Regions from separate parts of the Homo sapiens genome. Here region 2 is linked to region 1. Evidence: promoter capture Hi-C in 16 types of primary human blood cells and fetal thymus (Javierre and others, 2016). All regions are on one chromosome and are shown on one strand. Each heading gives the region's core, a stretch centred on a gene start or on the middle of the fragment in contact. The rest is flanking DNA. Distances are from core to core; before and after follow the strand shown.

Region 1 (4,533 bases), core at 790-3,289:
ATTTGCAGAAGACATGATTGTCTGTGTAGAAAATTACAGAGAATCAGCAACAAAAAAAAGTCATGCCACTAATAAGCAATTTTAGCTACAGGATACAAGGCTAATAGATAAAATTCAATAACTTCCTGTATATCAGCAATGAGCAACTAGAATTTGAAATTAATACACAATACTATTTACATTAACACCAATAAAATGAAGTGTTTAGAAATTAGTCTAAGATGTACAATATATATGAGGGAAACTACAAACTTCTGATGAAAGATTAAAGACGATCTAAATAAATGAAGAGATATTCCACATGTATGGATAGGTGGAGTTAATGTTGTCAGCATGTCAGTTCTTCCCAACTTGATCTGTACCTTCAACACAATCCCAGTCCAAATCCCAGCAGGTTCTTTTTGGATGTGATAGACTGATTTTAATGTTTATATGGAAAGGTTAAAGATCTAGAATAGCTAACACAGTACTGAAAAAGAATAGTCAGAGGACTAACATTACCCAACTTCAAGATTTACTATTAGGAAACAGTAATCAAGACGGTGTGGTATTGGTGAAAGAATAGACAAATGGATCAATGGAACAGAATAGAGAGCCCTCAACAGATGAATGGATACATAAAATGTACTATATACATACAAGGGAATATTACTCAGCCTTAAGGATATGTAGCATATCATATGCTGCCACATAGATGAACCCTGAGATCCTTACGCTAAATGACATAAGCCAGTCACAAAAGAAAAATACTATATGATTTCACTCACATGAGGTAGTTAGAGCAGTCAAAATCAGAAACAGTAAGTAGAAATGGTGGTTGCCAGGGGCTTGGGGGAGGGGAAACTGGAGATCAATAGGTATAGAATTTCTGTTTACAGATGAAAAGAGTTATTGAGACTGTTGCACAACAGTGTGAATGTTCTTAATGCCACTAAACTATGCACTTAAAAATGGTTAAGATGGTATGTGCATTTTTACCACAATAAAAATAATAAATGAATAAAGAACAAAGGAAGTAATTAGCTATCAAACCACAACAAGGCACGGAGAAACCTTAAATGCATATTGCTTAGTGAAAGAAGCCAGTCTGAAAAGGCTGCCTACTATATGATTCCAACTATGCATATGATACTTGGGAAAAGACAAGCTCACAGAGATAGTAAAAAGATCAGTGGTAGCCAGAGATTTGTGGAGAGGAAAAAGGATGAATAGAAGAATACAGTGAATTCTTAGAGCAGGAAAACTTCTATATGATATTGTAATGATGGATAGATCAGGCCTGCAGGGGGAGTAGATGAGGTCAGTCTTTTGCAAACCTGGTTCCTTCTTGCCACGCCCCGCCCACAGCCCCACTGTGTGTGAACCAAGAGAGTTGGAAGGCCTTCTGCAGACGGACCCATTCCACCTGAATCTCCATGACATATTGGACTTCTCCATATAATTTCATTTGGAAAGAAACTTGAGCATCTAAATAAAATGTTTGGAAACCACCATGCTACAAGACCAGCATGTGCTGTCTAGTTCTTACCCTCTGCAACAGTAAGATTCTGGGGCATTAAGACTTAGTTCCAGGATTCTGTCATTCTGCCAACGTTCTGTGGCTGGGGTTCTAAAGGAGCTTGCCTGGCTTAGAACTGCAAGTGACTCTAGTGTGATGGAGAGCACCAGCAAAGCCTTAGGGCCCATCCCTGGCCTCCTGTTACCCACAGAGGGGTAGGCCCTTGGCTCTCTTCCACTATGACGTCAGCTTCCATTCTTCCTTTCTTATAGACAATTTTCCATTTCAAGGAAATCAGAGCCCTTAATAGTTCAGTGAGGTCACTTTGCTGAGCACAATCCCATACCCTTCAGCCTCTGCTCCACAGAGCCTAAGCAAAAGATAGAAACTCACAACTTCCTTGTTTTGTTATCTGGAAATTATCCCAGGATCTGGTGCTTACTCAGCATATTCAAGGAAGGTCTTACTTCATTCTTCCTTGATTGTGACCATGCCCAGGCTCTCTGCTCCCTATAAAAGGCAGGCAGAGCCACCGAGGAGCAGAGAGGTTGAGAACAACCCAGAAACCTTCACCTCTCATGCTGAAGCTCACACCCTTGCCCTCCAAGATGAAGGTTTCTGCAGCGCTTCTGTGCCTGCTGCTCATGGCAGCCACTTTCAGCCCTCAGGGACTTGCTCAGCCAGGTAAGACCTCTCCCTTTTTAAGGGGAGACCAAAAGAGGAATTAAGAAGAGCCATTATGTCACAGCTCATTAGGAACAAAACCAGAACTAAAGGCTCAGGTCACTGAGGCTGGTTCCCTTGATCTTTCCTGACCCCAGTTTTGGGAGGAGACAGTGGAGCCGCTACAGCAACAACCCTCCCATTGTTTGGGGAAATAATCCAGAACGAAGAACTGTTTCTCACTGTGGGTGTAAAGGACATTTCAGGCCGTAGTGGAGAGGGAGAAACTATTGCCTGAAGCTTCAAATTTTGGTTATGGTTCAGTGTACCTTCCAGAACAGTGGCTGTGTAAAGAGGATGAGGACCCAGAGGAATCTCAGCGTATGGCATAGGCTAACTCTAAAGCCCATGAGGATGAAAGACTGGGAAGCAAGGTATTGGAACTTATGTTCCCAGTGTCAGAAGTTTTGGGTTAGTAGACAAGGACTAGCTTGTTACTCAAAATGTTTCCAAACCCAGTCAACAATGACGGGCCGCAGAGTTCAATAGAGGAAAGAGACTCACAGGCAACATTTTATCTCTGGGATCTGGACTAAGACACTGAACTTGGGATGGTGACTTCTTGGTCTTCTCCTTCCTTCTCTTCTTTTCCTTACAAATGCACACTTACGGTGGGTCCTAAATGTCTCATTCTTTGCAAAATTTCTTTCAGATTCAGTTTCCATTCCAATCACCTGCTGCTTTAACGTGATCAATAGGAAAATTCCTATCCAGAGGCTGGAGAGCTACACAAGAATCACCAACATCCAATGTCCCAAGGAAGCTGTGATGTGAGTGGACAGTGCCTGGCACCCCCATTCAAAAGTTCTGATGGACAACATAGAGAAGTCAAGATTCATGTCCATATGAGTCGGATGCATATAACTTCTATCCAAAGGGCCCCTCTACCCCATAGAGAAACTCAGTCCATGAGAAGGAGTCCATAACTGCTCTAGGATTCCCTTCTAGGGGCTTGGTGAAACTAACCCAATATCTGTAGCCAGGACCCTGGAGGGTTTCACCTGGACAGCAAGAGCAGAGCTTCCTTCTGGAGCTTCTTCCTCCCACTCTTCCCCTCCCTCCTCTCCCGGGTCCGGGTCCTTCACCTAAGGACCAAGGGCTGATCAGTTCTAGGGACCAATGGCCCACAGTCCTGTGCAGGATCTTCAAAGTCTTCCATCTAATTGTGCCCTCTCTCCCCCACAGCTTCAAGACCAAACGGGGCAAGGAGGTCTGTGCTGACCCCAAGGAGAGATGGGTCAGGGATTCCATGAAGCATCTGGACCAAATATTTCAAAATCTGAAGCCATGAGCCTTCATACATGGACTGAGAGTCAGAGCTTGAAGAAAAGCTTATTTATTTTCCCCAACCTCCCCCAGGTGCAGTGTGACATTATTTTATTATAACATCCACAAAGAGATTATTTTTAAATAATTTAAAGCATAATATTTCTTAAAAAGTATTTAATTATATTTAAGTTGTTGATGTTTTAACTCTATCTGTCATACATCCTAGTGAATGTAAAATGCAAAATCCTGGTGATGTGTTTTTTGTTTTTGTTTTCCTGTGAGCTCAACTAAGTTCACGGCAAAATGTCATTGTTCTCCCTCCTACCTGTCTGTAGTGTTGTGGGGTCCTCCCATGGATCATCAAGGTGAAACACTTTGGTATTCTTTGGCAATCAGTGCTCCTGTAAGTCAAATGTGTGCTTTGTACTGCTGTTGTTGAAATTGATGTTACTGTATATAACTATGGAATTTTGAAAAAAAATTTCAAAAAGAAAAAAATATATATAATTTAAAACTACTTAGTCTTATTCTTCTTGGGGTAACATTTAGCTGGGAGTGAGTTTTGGGCATCATGGGTGACAGTTTGGGCATGGACGGGCCATTTTTCAAGAATGTCTTCTGGCTACGCTGGACTCAACCAAGGTTCTCAGAGAACTTGGTGGGACCAGGCCAGGATGTTCCAGCTCTCTGACTCTAGTCCCTAACTTCAGCAGCCCTGATTCGCTAGCCTCTCTTGTTTCTCTTGTTTATATATTATCCAGCCTAAGGTATTTTGTTATAGCTGCCCAAAAAGACTAAGATAATCTCCATCACTCTACCCCCAACCCCAATCCCAAGAACTTGCAAGCATCCATTTAAAGGCGTGGAACCTCTTCTTTTTGACAGCCTTTTAAGGTCAAGATTCCCCTGTACTTAGTGAGCTTAGCTGAATCTTCTTACAAACATGTGACCCGCCATATTGAGCCATACATACCAGAGCTTATTATTTTTCCAGCTTATTGGGAAAACACGTCTAAGGCAAACAAATTTATTGTACTGTTGAA
Region 2 (4,297 bases), core at 1,017-3,516, 100 kb before region 1:
TTGGGTGTATACCCAATAGGATTGCTGGGTCAAATGGTATTTCTGGTTCTAGATCCTTGAGGAATCACCACACTATCTTCTACAATGGTTGAACTAATTTACACTTCCAGCAACAGTGTAAAAGCGTTTCTATTTCTCCGCATCCTCTCCAGCATCTGTTGTTTCCTGGCTTTTTAATGATTGCCTTTCTAACTGGTGTGAGATGGTATCTCATTGTGGTTTTGATTTGCATTTCTCTAATGAGCAGAGATGATGAGCTTTTTGCTTAAGTTTGTTGGCCACATAAATGTCTTCTTTGTGAAGTGTCTGTTCATATCCTTTGCCCACATTTTGATGGGGTTGTTCGTATTTTTCTTGTAAATTTGTTTAAGTTCTCTGTAGATTCTGGATATTAGCCCTTTGTCAGATGGATAGATTGCAAAAATTTTCTCCCATTCTGTAGGTTGCCTGTTCACTCTGATGATAGGGAAGCTGGACATTTTAAATAATATAATATGGCAATCCTGAAAAGCAGATTCTCCATGCAAATTTTGTTGTTGCATTTTATTTGCTTTTATGTTCAGGTTTAATGACTTTTACAAGATAATTCTGTAAAGTCTGCATTTTTTGTCACATGTGGCCACTGAAATCTCTTATCAGCTTAGTGTTTAGCTAGTGACTGGATAGAAATTTCCTCAGACACTTGGGGCCAGTAAGTCTTTCAGTCTTTGCCAGGGAGCTCTGTGTGTTGGGGCTCACTTTCAACAACAGAAGGGCTGTTTACAACTCTGCCCTAGTGGGCTGGACGTGGTGGCTCACACCTGTAATCCCAGCACTTTGGTAGGCCAAGGTGGGTGGATCACTTGTGGTTAGGAGTTTGAGACCAGACTGGCCAACATAGTGAAACCTCATCTTTAATAAAAATACAAAAAAAAAAAAAAATTAGCCAGGCGTGGTGGCAGGTGCCTATAATTCCAGCTACTCCAGATGCTGAGGCAGGAGACTCTTTGAACCTGGGAGGCGGAGCTTGCAGTGAGCCGAGATCACGCCACTGCACTCCAGCCTGGGTGACAGAGCAAGACTCCATCTCAAAAAATAAAAAACCTACTCTGCCTTAGCTTTCACTTCCTGTTTGCTCAGTGCCTCAAATTTAGTCAGAGGTGAGAGCTTAGGGTCTTTTCAAGTCTTTCTGAGCATTTATACAGCCCTAAGCAGGTACAATGTCATATGTATGTGTGTGGCCTTCTAGATTTTGCATAGCTTTGTGAGGTGTTGATAATATCACTCAATGGTCTTTGAACTGAGGCTGAAAGATATTAAGAGACTTACTAAAGTACTCCATCAAGCAGTGAGAGATGCCAGATTTAAATCCAAAGTTATGCTCTTTCTTTTCCAAGAAGCAAGACCTCTGCAACTTCCATGGGTGTTCCTCTTCTGTGCTTTTTGGCAATCCTAGCTTTCACCCAGCATGGAATTCCTCCATACCAAGTTTGGGACTGAAAGATGAGCTCTTGGGGGTTGGCAAGTGTCTGGGGACAGAGACTTAAAGCCAAAGCTGATTGTAAGAAATCTCAAGGATGGGGGAAGGAAGTCTTGCCCCATGTGTGATGAGTGAGAGACAAGTAACTGCCTGTGCATCTGAGGACTGGGAGGACATTTGGGGCCATCACAGATGACTGTAGTCCTTTTTAAGAGCCAAGTCATTTCTTGGGCATGCATTACAGGGACCTGGCCCTATGACAAACACTTAGACTACAGTAGGTCTATAAAACAGCAAAAAGGAAATAAACAAACAAGCAAATCTCAGCCAATGAGTTACTGAAGTGGCGTATGATTTTAGAGTCTAAGATCCTAACTCCAAAGATCTACCAATTTGTTTTTCTTGAGTCTTTTCCATGGAATCATTGACAGGTGGTCACCTTCAATAACAGGGAACATATTACTTTCCAATCAACTCATTCCTTCTTCAGGCTCCTCTGCTTGTAGATAGAGAACCCAATACAGTGGAGGGAGCAGACTCCTCTGACTTCCAAGCTTTTGTTCTTGGCTTCAACCCTTTTAATCCATGTGGCTTTGCCAAGTCACTTCCCTTCTTTAAGTCTGTTTCTTCATCTGAAAAATGGAGAAAAAAAATTCCTGCTTGGCCAGGTTGCTTGAGTGTTGATGACATAAAGCTATTGAACTTACCTGGTAGAGGAGCACAATAGCGGTAGCCATTGTTGAAGTTCTTCCCTCTAAGAAACTAAAATCTTTGTCGCAGCAGTTTTCACCCAATGTTGTTAATTCTGCTCCTTTAGACCACTTCCCCAACTCATGCTTTCAGATTACTGCATACAGTGACTGTATTGCCTCTTTTTGGGTAGGCTAAACCACTCCACTCTTTAAAAACACTCCTCAATTATATGACCTTAACTCCTTTTACCACCCAATTTCCTCTCCTTTGAAGATAAGGCCCACTCTCTCCCCAGCTCATAATGTGTGAAGGTTTTCAGGCTGTCCTGGCCAGCAGAACAAGAAGAGTGAGATCCACTCCCTCATTCCAAAGCTTATACTTCTTGTAAAGCAACCCAAGCTCACCTTCATTTTCCTATTATGCTCACCTTCATTTTCCTATCCTGGGTCACATGTTTGCACCTAAATTTGTGAAGTACAAAGTCAGTATCTTTCCTATCCCTGCTAAAATGCATCTTGTTAGAGACAGCACAGTGTCCCAGGCTGCTGAGACCTCGATTCTCACATCTGTCTCAAAGCCTATAAATTGGCAAAAATAATGAGAATACATCGTATTACATCACCCAAGTTCTCCTCACTTTCCCACACTCTTCTACCCACCAATCGCAAATGTCCTGGGTAGATGAGCACCTGAGGCTATTTTAACAAGATTGAGAGTGAAGCCTGGAAAATGCTTAATTTAAACTTAAACCCACAAGTATTTGTTGAGTGCCTGATATGCAGCAGGCATTTGCAAACACAGTCTTCTGACCTTCACAACACTCCTCAGTGTGGAGTATCATAAACCCATTTTACAAATGGGAATCAAAGAAGTCAAGCAATTTGTACAAGATCACATAGCTAATAAGCTTCAAGGATATGGCACAAGTCTGGGAGGTTTGTTTGACTCCAGAACCCATATTATTTTCCTATCTTGTCTAGGTTTCTCATGCTGCTAATGGAGTCTATAAGCAGTTCTTAAAGTGCATGCAAATCACCTGAGAAATATGTTAAAAATGAAAGTCCACCCTCACCCCCCACATTCTGATTCAGTAGGTCTGGAGAGAGGCTCAGTCACCTTTAAGAAATGCTAGGTGATTCTGAGGCTAGTGGTTCACAGACAACACCTGCCTTGCCAGCTCAGCTACTGGGCACCAAAAGTCAATTCCCAAATATTGCTTTTGGACCAGCATAAATAATAACAGCCAGCCTTTCCTAGCTGAGAGAGATGGTCAGAGCTCTCCTCAGCCATTGTCTCTCATTGCTCCCATGGGATTTTTCAGCCTAGAGCCTAAATATTGCCTCCTTCTGTGACTTTTGACTTGCTTTCTAGATCTGGCCAGAGGAAGCAAGAAACCCTAGGTGTGGATGTTGCAATGGCAGATTATGTAACACCTCTGGAGTGCTCCCTGCATCACATAATCTCTGACAGTGGAAATGAGACCTTCCCAGGCTGCCTGTCCATGCCTTGTCCCAAACCATGAAAATGTACATAGAGCAACAAATGGCTGCTTGGCGCACCATGGCCCATAATCACTGCTTCCCATCCCCCTCACACCAAGACACTGCATCAGTCACCATTGGCATTTAAAGACATTTGCTTCACTGATCTTCTACCCTCCCCTATCTTTTTGCCTGTGGTCATCCAGGGCTGTTTCTTAAAGTCACCCCTCTCGGTCATGAGATTAAAAAGAGAAAACTGCCTCTTCCTTCCTTTTGGGATGTGAGTAATGATTGAATCCTTCTTGGGGTTAGCATGCCGCAATAAGGTTTCCGCGAAAGGATCTGAAGTTTAATAAGCTCATGGGCTCTCTGACTGCATTTTGTTTGTTCTACATGGCATGAAAAATTCAGAGACCAGGCTAAAATGTCTATGTAACTTAGAATAAACTACCTTACCTCCCTGAAATCTAGTTCCTTTATCAGTAAAATAGGGATAACAACCGTAACTGCCTCTTTGCTGTTGAGATCATTGAATAGAAACGTACGTACAAAGAGCTCAGCAAAGTTGTGGCACGGAGTAGGTGCTCCATGCATATTGTCATTGTTCTCTACATCTTGCTACACACAGTGCAGTCCCCAATGAGGCAGCATCTGCATCACCCTG

The links. The method cuts DNA at HindIII sites, captures the fragments that hold promoters and counts their contacts. A CHiCAGO score of 5 or more calls a contact.
Region 2: a fragment that was not itself captured here is called in contact with the fragment with the promoter of CCL8 in region 1 in 1 of 17 cell types (monocytes); the score reaches 5.9 in monocytes.

What each region holds. Positions count from the first base shown.
Region 1 is chr17:34,317,396-34,321,928 of GRCh38, forward strand. CCL8 (C-C motif chemokine ligand 8) reads left to right here and starts at 2,040. Exons shown (of 3, transcript NM_005623.3): 1 at 2,040-2,182; 2 at 2,874-2,991; 3 at 3,407-4,007. The coding sequence starts at 2,107. The coding sequence ends at 3,512. The HindIII fragment of the contact is 3,664 bases long and covers 1-2,459 here.
Region 2 is chr17:34,217,331-34,221,627 of GRCh38, forward strand. No RefSeq gene overlaps it. Among named protein-coding and RNA genes, the nearest start is that of CCL2, 36 kb to the right of the region's middle. The HindIII fragment of the contact is 511 bases long and covers 2,012-2,522 here.